Regions from separate parts of the Homo sapiens genome. Here region 2 is linked to region 1. Evidence: promoter capture Hi-C in 16 types of primary human blood cells and fetal thymus (Javierre and others, 2016). All regions are on one chromosome and are shown on one strand. The core of a region is centred on a gene start or on the middle of the fragment in contact, and the rest is flanking DNA. Distances in the headings are between cores, read along the strand shown.

Region 1 (7,084 bases), core at 1,657-4,156:
AGGGGATCAATTGGGTACATAACATGATGTGTCCAGTTTTACTCACTACAATTTTAAAACCCTAAAAATAGGGACATATTCACATAATTAACTCACAGGCAGAAATTGATGTTGGCATTTTCCCTAAGCTTCTGTAGATCTTGTACCTAATGAAATTTATAACCTCTTTTTCCATGGACACTAAATTACCGTTTCTAATAAGGTGTATGTGTAGGTGCATAAATTTACTTAGGAAGTAGACTTTTCAGAATACAAGTTTTTATATTTTGTAAAAATTGTTACTCTGGGATACCTATCATGGATTCACTTTTTTGAGTATTTCTTAATTATTTACTTGTTCTCATTGATATTTTGTAAAAATTGTTACTCTGGGATACCTATCACAGATTCACTTTTTTGAGTATTTCTTAATGATTTACTTGTTCTCATTGAATATGTTAAGAAATTTGAAGAATATTACAAATGTTTCAATCAGATATATACTTTTTCATAAAATACATTGATAAAATACAGAATTTTGAATCATTCAAAGTGATAATTTTCGGTAGTTTAGAATAATAGTAATGCTCTTAAGAACATTTTAATAAGTGAAATATCTATTGAGTACTTAAAATGATATAAACAAATAAGTGTTATAAGTACAAAATGTCAACAGGAGAGACTGTCCTACTGGAAGTTTTCTCTTGAATGCTCAGATAGCTCCTATAAATTATGAGTACTCATTTCCATTATAAATGCAGAATAGTTTCATAATTGCCAGTAAAGGTATTTAATTATGTATATATGCAACAAAATATCAGAATCCCCAAAGACAGAACTTCCAAGGAAGCTAATCTTACCTACTGACCTACCCTAAAGTTTAAAATCTGATTTTCTTATTTTTCTTTGGCCCAAATGTATAAAGATTCCTAGAAGCAAGTGCTGATACTGATGCTGAGTTACCTTTCTGGCCACCTCCTGATTGACAGCTCTGGGAATCTGATATTCTTCTGCTCTCAACTAATTCAGTTCCCTCACCCAAAATGCTTACCAATATTTCATTCAGCTTGTGGCCTTTACTTATTTCCATATGCCTTTACTAAGTTATCTCTTATTTTATTTATGTCTACACTTTTACTCTCCCTCTGATCCTTAAAGATGTCTTGGCTTGCTTTGATGCATAGATAGAATAATCTCCTGACTATCACAAATGATCATCACTAACACAGAGCATATTTAAAATAATCCTGCTAATACAAACTTGTGTATATGACACATAAAATTGGGCCTGGATCACATCTGAAAGGCCCAACAGATTATTTGATTTATTTTACTCAAGTGAGAATGAATATTTTGTATTTGACATAAATTCCAATAACCAAGAACTAATAATATGAAAAAACCCTTATGTATTAATTACTTTAATAATTAAATAACCTTTAGCACATACTAAACCTGGTTTATATAAAAATGGTCTACCAGCAAAAATGTCATCATGTTGTCTAGGATACAGGTGTCAATGATAAGAATCCAGAAACTCATTTATCTGGAAGGATCATTACATTTCCAGTAAGGAATTATAAGGTGGGATGTGATTTTCCTGAGATGACTAAGCTCAAAATCAACTAATATTTTCAGATTTTTAGTATAGAATTATTTCTACTACACCATGATTTTGCCTGGAGTCTTTATTTTTGACATTCCAAATTAATCTGTAATTAGCCATGATCAGTCTTAAACAAATGCGAAAAGTGGGGAAAATGTCTCTGCATTGCCCCCCGACTTTGATTTGTATTACCTGTTTTTTTCCTCTAATGACCTACGTTGTAATAGATGAAAATTCAGTGTGTGTGTGTGTGTATATGTGTGTGTGTGTGTGTAGTTTCTTTTCAAATAAAACTTTGCTTTCATTGGACTTTCATGGCTGGCAAGATTTTAATACATTTATTTCCACATACTTGCTCTCTGAGCTTTGAAATTTGGTTTAATAAAATTTAATAAACATTTAGTGAGCACTCACAATGTGTCTGGTTCTTTGAGCGAGTTATTCCTGGATTCTAGGAGCTCACAGTACAGTGTTTCAGAATGGCAAATATCTAAACATTAGCCTGTAATCTTATGCTCCATATACTGGGTACTACTTTACATAAATATATAAGTAAAGTCAACACATATGAGGCTGTTTTCTTGATAGATCATGGAAGGACAAAATCTGTTCAAAAAAAGATAAATACTATATAAATATCAAAAATACAGTCTTTTTAAGGGATGTTCTCAAGAAAGCAGCTCTATTTTGATCTGTAATAGATTATCTCACATATATATTCACTCACATATACCTTCCAGTTAAAATCATGAAGCCTCATCATTGCAGTTAAAGCAATACATTTGTATTTTTTAAAATTCTTTTTTTAAAATTATACTTTAAGTTCTGGAGTATATGTGCAGAATGTGCAGCTTTGTTACATAGGTACACATGTGCCATGCTGATTTGCTGCACCAATCAACCCATCACCTGCATAGCGTATTTCTCCTAATGCTATCACTCCCCTAGCTCCCCACTCCCCAACAGGCCCCGGTGTGTGATGTTCCCCTCCCTGTGTCCATGTGTTCTCCTTGTTCAACTCCCACTTATGAATGAGAACATGCAGTGTTTTGTTTTCTGTTCTTGTGATAGTTTGCTGAGAATGATGGTTTCCCGCTTCATCCATGTCCCATTTGTAAAAATGAAAAGGATAATTGTGGGAGGATATTCTAAACACTTCTTTTCTAATGAGCTGCTCTGTGTGAGGCCCTGGTCAGGGAAAACGTGGTCGATAAGGCATCACATTTTTGACATGGAGCTTCTGACAAATAATCTCAAATTTATCACTGACCCTTTTGTTTGTAGGCTCCGACACCTGAGTCCAACACCTTCAGAAGAACACATGAAAAATAAGAACAATGTGACTGAATTTATCCTCTTAGGGCTCACACAGAACCCTGAGGGGCAAAAGGTTTTATTTGTCACATTCTTACTAATCTACATGGTGACGATAATGGGCAACCTGCTTATCATAGTGACCATCATGGCCAGCCAGTCCCTGGGTTCCCCCATGTACTTTTTTCTGGCTTCTTTATCATTCATAGATACCGTCTATTCTACTGCATTTGCTCCCAAAATGATTGTTGACTTGCTCTCTGAGAAAAAGACCATTTCCTTTCAGGGTTGTATGGCTCAACTTTTTATGGATCATTTATTTGCTGGTGCTGAAGTCATTCTTCTGGTGGTAATGGCCTATGATCGATACATGGCCATCTGTAAGCCTCTTCATGAATTGATCACCATGAATCGTCGAGTCTGTGTTCTTATGCTGTTGGCGGCCTGGATTGGAGGCTTTCTTCACTCATTGGTTCAATTTCTCTTTATTTATCAGCTCCCTTTCTGTGGACCCAATGTCATTGACAACTTCCTGTGTGATTTGTATCCCTTATTGAAACTTGCTTGCACCAATACCTATGTCACTGGGCTTTCTATGATAGCTAATGGAGGAGCGATTTGTGCTGTCACCTTCTTCACTATCCTGCTTTCCTATGGGGTCATATTACACTCTCTTAAGACTCAGAGTTTGGAAGGGAAACGAAAAGCTTTCTACACCTGTGCATCCCACGTCACTGTGGTCATTTTATTCTTTGTCCCCTGTATCTTCTTGTATGCAAGGCCCAATTCTACTTTTCCCATTGATAAATCCATGACTGTAGTTCTAACTTTTATAACTCCCATGCTGAACCCACTAATCTATACCCTGAAGAATGCAGAAATGAAAAGTGCCATGAGGAAACTTTGGAGTAAAAAAGTAAGCTTAGCTGGGAAATGGCTGTATCACTCATGAGAATGTGACATTCATTCTTTCACAGAAGCAAGGAACAATTTCACTATCCTATCTGATTACATTTCTGTTATCATTTCCTTTTAGTTTTTTAGCTTACTTATTCTGAAGCAGTCATATAAATTAATATTTGTCTAGGTGTAATATGTTACACCCATTACAGACCAAGAAAATTGCATAGGTTTAACAGTGTGTACTGTTTTTGTAATCATACTGTGTTAAGATTCTTTGGTTGATAACAATATTTAGTTTTATTTCAAGCTCTTTTTTATTTAAAAATCATTTATTTATTTTTCTTTTTTATGTATTTTAAATTGTCAATAATTGGGTATATTTATGGAGTACAATGTGATGTTCTGATCTATGTATACATTATAGAAAGATTTCATCAGTCTAATGAATATATCTGTCACCTCCCCAACATTGATTTTTTGTGTGTGGTAACATCAAAAATCTATTCTTCTTTATGGTCTGTGATATCTTCCTGGCACATATAAATGTGATCTAAGAAAATTTGTTCCCTTTCATCCAAGAGAATGATATATTAAACGTGAAAATTTAGATTGTTAAAAGAATGTTAATCTAACAGTACAAATAAATGTCTTGGTGAAATTAATGAATTTAAAGTTTCATAGATATGTTGATAGCTGAGGATAAATCAATGAGAAATAAACTTTGTTAATTTCATACTGTGATGGAGTTAGGATGTCCAGATAGCATATAGTTGTTTTTGTATAATTTGACCAGTTTTTGAACAGAAAAATTGTTTAATCTCATTCTGTATACCTAGATCAATTGACCTCCCCCAATAGCTGAAATAGGTGCTTAAGCCACTCATATATAACAGTAGATTCCACAGAATCTACCCACATTAAACTCTCTGGGTGCACTTTAAAAACACGCACACACACAATGAATGTCAAACATTTTTCAAACGGATTGTTTTGCTTTACACAATAAGTAGCTTTCAGAATCTCTGTGAACTATATGATCTCATTGACTGAAGTGATACAAAGTGATACATCAAAGGTGTCTTCTTTGTTTAGAGTTGCTCTACAGTGGGTTTAGAGAACTAATACGGTATTACAAAGATAATTTTTAATGGCTATGGCATAACATATTGCCTTGTTGAAGTCAACCTACACCATCTTTATTAAGGTAAAAAGTTGGTATTTTTTTCTTTTTCCTTTCCTCAGTTTATAATAGATGTACTTAATGCACTTAGCAATATTAATGCTTCCAGTTATTCAACACATATTGAAAAAAAAATAAGCCATGAAATTGTATTTATTCTTTAGTTAAGGAAATGAAAAGTGCTGTAGATTTTTTAGTAAGAAAGGAATCTCATATCAGGAATTAGAACTTCATAATCATTGGAATTGGGGAATCCAACATCTGGATACTGGAGTGAGCACAGTGGGATTGAAGTTTCACCACCCAAGCCATGATGCAGAGATGAGGAAGCTAAACTCAGGAAGAAGGTCCTCCTGTCCTCTGCACATGCTTCTCAAAGTCCTCTCCTGCCCTGAGTTTTATATGAAGATAACTTTCTCTAAAATTAGAACAGCAGCAGAAGCAAGAGGGGAAGATAACACACAATTATAAATCACAAGTTGTCATGAGAACTCACTGTCATGTTGACAGCACTAAGGGGGGATGGTATTAAACTACGAGAAACTTCCCCCATAATCTACTTAACAACAGGCCCCACCTACACTTTGGATATTCCATTTAGACATGAGCTTTGGGTGGGGACACAGATCAAAACCATATTATTCTGCTCTTGGCCCCTCTAAAATGTCATGATCTTTTCAACTTTCAAAATACAATCATGCCTTCCCAACATTCCCCCAAAGTGTTAACCCATTCCAACATTAACTAAAAAGTCCATGGTCCAGTCTTATGTGAGACAAGACTTGTCCCTTCCCCCTGAGCCTGTAAAATCAAAAGCAAGCCTGTAAAATCAAAAGCAAGCTAGTTACTTCCAAGATACAAAAAAGGTATAGGAATTGGTTAAATACTTTCATTCCAAAATGAAGAAATCAGCCAAAAAAAAAAGGGGGTTACAGGCCCCATACAAGTCTGAAGTCTAGCAGGGCAGTCATTAAATCTTAAAATTCCAAATCAATATCCTTTGACACCATTCCTAACATCTGGGGCATACTAGTGCAATGGGTAGTCTTCCAAGGCCTTGGGTAGCTCCACTCATGTGGCTTTACTGGTTTCAGACCCCAAAGTTACTCTTTAATTTCCTCTGATGCTCTTGAGGGGGACTGTGACCCTTCTAGGTGCAGGGTGCAAGCTGCTGGTGGATCTATCATTTTGGGGTCTGGAGGATGGTAGCCCTCTTCTCATAGTTCCACTAGGCAGTTCCCCAGTAGGTACTCTGTGTGTTTGCTCCAACCCCACATTTCCACTCTGCACTGCCCTAGTACAGATCCTTTGTGATGCTCAACCCCTGAAGCAGGCTTCTCTCTGGGATTCCAGGCTTTTTGATACATCCTTTGAATCCTAGGTGGAGGCTCCCAAGCCTCATCTGTTGCAGTATGTGCACCTGCAGGCTTAACACCACATGGAAGCCTTAAAAGCTCACAGCTTTCATCCTCTGAAGCAGTGGCCTGAGATGTATTTGGGGCCCATTTAGCCACAGCTAGACCTGGAGTGGCTGAGATGCACACTGCAGTGTCCCACGGTTGCTCAAGGCAACAGGGCTCTGGGCTTGGCCCTGAAAACCATTCAGTTCTCCTAGGTCTCCTGGCCTGTGATGGGAGGGGCTGCTGAAAAAGTGTCTGAAATGCCTTTGAGGACTTTTTCCCACTGTCTTGCCTGTTAGTACTTGGTTCCTATTATGCAGATTTCTGCAGTCTGCTTGAATTTCTTCCCAGAAAATGGGCTTTTCTTTTCTATCATGTGGCCAGACTGCAAATTTTTCAAACTTTTACACTCTGCTTCCCACTAGTTCCAGTTTCAGGTCATTTCTGTGCTCATTCATATGAGTTATAGGTTGTTAGACACAGCAAGGCTAAATCTTGAATGCTTTGCTGCTTAGAAATTTCTCCTGCAACATACCCTAAATCATCACTCTCAAGTTTAACCTTTGACAGATCCCTAAAGCAGGGGCACAATGCTGCCAGACTGTTGAAGCTCGGCAAAAGTGACCTTTATTCCATCCAGTTGCCATTAAGTTTTTCATCTCTAGGAAGTTCAAAACTTTCTCTCACCTTCCTGGCTTCTTC
Region 2 (7,049 bases), core at 2,716-5,215, 620 kb before region 1:
AGGATACTATCTGAGAAACCACTTTGTGATGTGTGCATTGATCTCACAGAGTTAAACCTTTCTTTTGATTCAGCAGGTAGGAAACCCTGTTTTGGTACATTCTGGGAATGGACATTTTGGAGCTTGTTGAGTCCTACAGTGAAAAATAAAATATCTTCAGACAAAAAGTAGAAAGAAGATTTCTGATAAAGTGCTTTGTGATGTGTGCATTCATTGCACAGTGTTAAACCATGTTTTGATTCTTCAGTTAGGGAACACAATTTTTGTGCATGCTGCGAATGGATATTTGGGAGCTATTGGGGTCAATGCTGAAGAAGTAAATATCCCATGGTAAAAACTAGAAGGAAGCTCTCAGAGAAACCACTTTGTGCATTCATCTCACAGAGTTAAAAGTTTCTTTAGATTCAGCAGTTTGGAAACACTGTTTCTGTAGAATCTGTGAAAGGAAATTTGGGACCACATTGAGGCATATGGTGAAAAAGAAAATATCTTCAGGTAAAAACCAGAAAGAAATTTCAGAAAAACTGCTTTGTGATGTGTGTATTCATGTCACAGTGTTCAACCTTTGTTTTGATTCAGTAGTTTGGAAAAACTGTTTTTGTACGTTCTGCAAATGGACATTTGGGAGCTCATTGAGGCCTATGATGAAAAAGAAAATACCTTCAGATAAAACTATAAAGAAGCTTTCTGAGAAATTGCTTTTTGATGTGTACATTCATCACACAGTGCTAAATCTTCCTTTTGATTCAGCACATTGGAAACACTGTGTTTGTAGAATCTGTGAATTGGCATTAATTAGCTCATTGAAGCCAAAGTTGAAAAAGAGAATATCCCAGGATAAAAACAGAAGGAAGCTATCTCAGAAATTGCTTTGTGATATGTGCATTCATCTTGCAGAGATAGACTTTCTTTTGATTAAGCAGTTTGGAAACACTGTTTTTTAGAATATACCAATGGGCCTTTTTTTTTTAGCCCATTGAGGCCTTTTTTGAGAAAGAAAATATCTTCAGATAAAAACTGGAAAGAAGCTTTCTGTGAAACTGCTTTGTGATTTTAGCATTTATCTCACAGTTGTACACCTTTCTTTTGATTCAGCAGTTAGTAAACACTATTTTTTTCCTTCCTGCTAATGGACATTTGGGAGCTCATTGAGGCCAATGGCAAAAAAGTGAATATCCCAGGATAAAAACTAGAAGGAAGCTATCTGTAAAACTTCTTTGTGATGTGTGTATTCACGTCACAGAGTTAAACCTGTCTTTTCATTCAGCAGTTTGGAAACACTGATTTTGTAGAATCTGTGAAGGGATATTTGGGAGCACATTGAGGCCTATGGTGAAAAAGAAAGTATCTTCTGATAAAAAATAGAAAAAAGCTATCTGAGAAACTGCTTGTGATGTGTGCATTCATCTAACATAAGTAAACCTTTCTTTTCTTTCAGCAGTTTGGAAACACGGTATTTGTAGAATCTTCAAAGTGATATTCGGGAGCATATTGAGGCCTATGGTGAAAAAGGAAATTCCTTAATATAAAAACTAGAAAGAAGCTTTCTGAGAAAATGCTTTGTGATGTGTGCATTCATCTCACAGAGTTAAACCTTACTTTTGATTCAGCAGCTTGGAAACAATGTTTTTTTCCATTCTGTGAATGGACATTTGGGAGCTCATTGAGGCCAATGGCAAAAAAGCGAATATTCGAGGAAAAAAATTCTGAGGCAGCTATCTGAGAAAATGCTTTGTGATGTGTGCATTCATCTCACAGAGAGAGACGTTTCTTTTCACTAAGCAGTTTGAAAACACTGTTTTTGTAAAATATGAGAAGGGATATTTTGGACCACATTGAGGCCTAGGGTAAAAAGGAAAATATCTTCAGATAAAAACAAGAAAGAAGCTTTTTGAGAAACTGCTTTGTGATGTGTGCATTGATCTCACAAGGTAAATCTTTCTTTTGATTCAACAGTTTGGAAACACTGTTTTTGTCCATTCTGAGAATGGACATTGGGAGCTGTTTGAGGCCAATGTCAGAAATGCAATTATCCCAGGATTAAAAACTAGAAGGAAGGTATCTGATAAACTACTTTTGGATGTGTGCATTCTTCTCACAGAGTTAAAACTTTCTTTTCTTTCTGCAGTTTGGAAACACTGTTTTTGAAGATTCTCTGAAGGGATATTTGAGAACTCATTGAGGTCAACGGTGTAAAAGGGAATATCCCTGTATTAAGTAGAATGAATCTATCTGTGAAACAGCTTTGTGATGTTTGCGTTCATCTCACAAAGTTAAACCATTCTTTTGATTCAGCAGGTGGGAAACAATGTTTGTGTAGAATCTTCAAATGTACATTTGGGAGCATATTGATGCCTGTGGTGAAAAAGGAAATATCTTCCAATGAAAACAAGAATGAAGCTTTCTGATAATCTGCTTTGTTATGTGTGCATTCATCTCAGAGTGCTAAACTTTTCCTTTGATTCAGCAGTTTGGAAACACTGTTTTTGTCCATTCTGTGAATGGGTATTTGGGAGCTCATTGAGACCAATGGCAAAAAAGTGAATATCCCGAGGTATAAACTAGGAGGAAGCTATCTGAGAAACCACTTTATGATGTGTGCATTAATCTCACAGAGTTAAAACTTTCTTTTGATTCAGCAATTGGGAACCGCTGTTTCTGTAGGATCTACAAATGGACTTTTGGGTGCGTATTGAGGCATATGGTGAAAAAAAATCTTCAGATTAAAAGGAGGAATCAGCTTTCTGATAAACTGTTTTGTGCTGTGTGCGTTCAGCTCACACAGGTAAACCTTTGTTTTCATTCAGCAGTTTGGAAACACTGTTTTTGTGCAATCTGCAAAGCAATATTTGGGAGGGCATTGAGGCCTTTGGTGAAAAAGAAAATATCTTCATGTAAATACTAGAAAAACGGCTTTGTGATGTGTACATTCATCTCACAGTTAAACCTTCCTTTGATTCAGCAGTTTGGAAACACTGTTTTTCTCCATTCTACCAACGAACACTTTGGAGTGCTGGAGGCCTATCGTGTAAAAGGAAAATATCTTCAGATAAAAACTAGAATGAAACTATCTGAGAAACTCCTTTGAGATGTATGCATTCACCTGTCAGAGTTAAATCATTCTTTTCATTCAGCAGTTTGGAAACACTGTTTTTGTAGAACCTGTGAAGGGATATTTGAGAGCACGTCGAGGCATATGGTAAAAAAGAAAATATCTTCAGATAAAACATAGAAAGAAGCTTTCTGAGAAACTGCTTTGTGATGGGTGCATTAATCTCACAAAGTTAAACCTTTTATTGATTTAGCAATTTCGAAACACTGTTTTTGTCCATTCTGCAAATGTACTTTTCAGAGCTCATTGAGGCCAATGGCAAAAAAGCACATATGTCAGGAAAAAAACTGGCAGGAAGCTGTCTGTGAATCTGCTTTGTGATCTGTGCATTCATCACGTACAGTTAAACTTTTCTTTTGAATCAGCAGGTTGGAAACACTGCTTTTGTTGAATCTGAGAAGGGATATTCAGATAAAAACTAGAAAGAAGCTTTCTGAGAAACTGTTCTGTGACGTTTGTATTCATCTCACAGAGTTAAACATTTCTTTTGGTTCAGCAGTTTGAAAACACTGTTTTTGTCCATTCTGTGAGTGGACATTTGGGAGCTGATGGAGGCCAATGGCAAAAAAGTGAATATGCCAAGATGAAAACGAAATAAAGCTATCTGAGAAACTGCTTTGTGATATCTGCATTCATCTCACAAAGTTAAACTTCTCTTTTCATTCAGCTGTTTGGAAACATTGTTTTTGTAGAATCTGCGAAGGGATATTTGGGAATGCATTGTGGCCTGTTGTGAAAAAGAAAATGTCCTCTGATAATAACTAGAAAGAAGCTCTCTGAAAAACTGTTTGTGTTGTGTGCATTCATCTCACAGAATTAAGCCTTTCTTTTCATTCAGCAGTTTAAGAACCACTGTTTTTGTCCATTCTGTGAATGGATATTTGGGAGCTCATTGAGGCCAAAGGCAAAAAAGCAAATATCCCGAGATATAAACTAGAAGGAAACTATCTGAGAAACCATTTGTGATGTGTGACTTCATCTTGCAGATTTAAACCTTTCTTTTGATTAAGCAGTTTGGAAACACAGTTTTTGTACTTTGTGTGAATGGACACTTGGTAGCCCCTTGAGGCCCATGGTGCAAAAAAATACCTTCTTTTAAAAGAAGAAAGAGGCTTTCTGAGTAACTGCTTTGTGAAGTGTGCATTCAAATCACACAGTTAAACTTTCTTTTGACTCAGCAATTTGGAATGAACTGTTTTTCTACAATCTGCAAAGGTATGTTTGGGAGCACATTGAGACCTATGGTAAAAATGAAAATATCTTCAGAAAAAAGCTTGAAAGAAGCTTTCAGAGAAAATGCTTTTTGATGTGTGCATTCATCTCACAGAGTTAAAACTTTCTTTTGATTCAGCAGTTTGGAAGCACTGTTTTTGTCCATTTTGGGAATGGATATTTGGGAGCTCTTAGAGGCCAATGATGAAAAAGTGAATATCTCAGGATAAAAAGTTGAAGGAAGCTATCTGAGACAAGGCTTTGTGATATGTCCATTCATCTCATAGAGACAAACTTTTCTTTTCATTCAGTCATTTGGAAACACTGTTTTTTAGAAACTGCAAAGGAATATTTGGGAGCTCATTGAGGCCTGTGGTGAAAAAGAAAATGTCTTCAGATAAAAACTAGAAAGAAGCTTTCTGAGGAACTGCTTTGTGACGTGTGCATTAAACTCACACAGATAAAACTTTCTGTTTATTCAGCAGGTTGGAAACACTGTTTTTGTGGAATATGTGAAGGGATATTTGGGAGCACATTGAAGACTATTGTCAAAAAACATATATCCTCAGATAAAAACTAGAAAGGAGCTTTCTGAGAAACCAATTTCTGATATGTGCATTCATCTCACAGAGTTAAACCTTCCTTTTGATTCTGCAGTTTGGAAATGGTGTTTTGTACATTCTTCAATTGGACATCTTTGAGAGCATTGAAGCCTATGGTGAAAAAGAAAATATTTTCTGAGAAAAATTAGAAAGAAGCTTTCTGAGAAACTGCTTTGTGATATGTGCATTCATCTCACAGAGGTAAACCTTTCTTTTGATTCAGAAGTTTGGAAAAACTTTGCTGTAGAATCTGAAAAGGACATTTGGAGCACAGTGAGGCCTATGGTGAAAAAGAAAATACCTTCAGATAAAAACTTGAAAGAAGTTTCTGAGAAACTGCTTTGTGATGTGTGCATTTATGTCACAGGGTTAAACTTGGTTTTGATTCAGCAATTTGGAAACAGTGTTTTTGAAGAATCTGTGAATGGACAATTGGGAGCCCATTGAGGCCTATCTTGAAAAAGAAAAATCTTCAGATAAAAAGTAGAAAGAAGCTTTCTGAGAAACTGCTTCATGATGTGTGCATTTATCTCACAGTGTTAAACCTTTCTCCTGATTCCACACATTGGAAACATTGTGTTTGTAGAATCTGCAAATGGACATTTGTGAGCTCTTTGAGGCCAAAGTCAAAAAAGCGAATATTGCAGGGTGAAAAGTAGAAGGAAGCTATCCAAGAAACCAGTTTATGATGTGTGCATTCATATCACAGAGTTCAACTTTTCTCTTGATTCAGCTGTTTGGAAACACTGCTTTTCTAGAATCTGTGAAAGGACACTAGGGAGCCAGCTGAGGCCTATGGTGAAAAAGAAAATATCATCAGATAAAAACTAGAAAGAAGCTTTCTGAGAAACTGCTTTGTGATGTGTGCATTCATCTCTCACAGTTCAAACTTTGTTTTGATTCCGGAATTTGGAAACACTGTTTTTGTACATTCTGCAAATGGATATTTGGGAGCTAATTGGATCCAATGCAAAAAAATGAATATCCAAAGATAAAAACTAGAAGGAATCTATGTGAGAAACTCCTTTGTGACGTGTTTATTCATCTCACAGAGTTAAATCTTTCTTTTGACTCAGTAGTTTGGAAACACTGATTTTTAAATTCTGTGAAAGGATATTTTGGAGTGTCTCAAGGCCTATGGTGAAAAAGTAAATATCTTCTGATAAAAAGTAGAAAGAAGCTTTATGAGAAACTGCTGTGTAATGTGTGTTTTCATCTTATAGTGTTCAACCATTCTTATGATTCAGGAATTTATAAACACAGTTTTTGCCCATTCTGCAATTGGACATTTCGAAGCTCATTGAAGCCAATGGCAAAAGAGTGAATATCCCATGATAAAAAATAGTAAAAAGCTATCTGAGAAAATGCTTTGTGATGTTTCCATTCATATCTAGAGTTAAAGGATTCTTTTGATTCAGCAGTTTTGAATCACATTTTCTGTACTATTTGCAAAAGCATATTTGGAGTGTCTTGAAGCCTATGGTGAAAAAGAAAATATCTTCATCTAAAAATAAGAAGCTGTCTGAGAAGCTGCTTTGCGATTTGTGCATTCATCTCACAGAACTAAACCTTTCTTTTGTTTCAGCAGTTTGGAAACCCTGTTTTTGTACGTCCTGCGAACGGACGTTTCAGAGCTCATTGAGACCAATGGTGAAAAGTGAACATCCCAGGATAAAAACTAGAAGGAAGCTATCTGAGAAACCGCTGTGTGATGTGTGCATTAATCTCACAGAGTTAAATCTTTCTTTATATTGAGCAGTTTGGAAACACTGTTTTAGTAGAATCTGCAAAGGGATATTTGGGAGCACATTGAGGCCTATTGTGAAAAAAGAAAAATCTTCAGATACAAACTAGAAAGAAGCTTTCTGAGAAACTGCTTTGTGAAGTGTGCATTCATCTCACAGAGTTAAATCTTTCTTTTCACTCAGTGAATATCCCAGGACAAAAACTAGATGGATGCTATCTGAGAATCTGCTTTCTGATGTGTTCATTCATCTCTCAGAGTTCAACCATTGTTTTCATTCAGCAGTTTGGAAACGTTATTGTTTTCAGAATTTCTGAAGGGATATTTGTGAGCTCATTGAGGCCAATGGTGAAAAAGCAAATATCCCAAGATATATACC

What was found. The method cuts DNA at HindIII sites, captures the fragments that hold promoters and counts their contacts. A CHiCAGO score of 5 or more calls a contact.
Region 2: a fragment that was not itself captured here is called in contact with the fragment with the promoter of OR4A15 in region 1 in 4 of 17 cell types (M2 macrophages, erythroblasts, fetal thymus and 1 more); the score reaches 7.9 in M2 macrophages.

The regions. Positions count from the first base shown.
Region 1 is chr11:55,365,068-55,372,151 of GRCh38, forward strand. It overlaps OR4A15 (olfactory receptor family 4 subfamily A member 15), which reads left to right and starts at 2,907. Exons shown (of 1, transcript NM_001005275.2): 1 at 2,907-3,851. The coding sequence starts at 2,907. The coding sequence ends at 3,851. The HindIII fragment of the contact is 3,478 bases long and covers 127-3,604 here.
Region 2 is chr11:54,748,867-54,755,915 of GRCh38, forward strand. No RefSeq gene overlaps it. Among named protein-coding and RNA genes, the nearest start is that of OR4A5, 46 kb to the left of the region's middle. The HindIII fragment of the contact is 844 bases long and covers 3,544-4,387 here.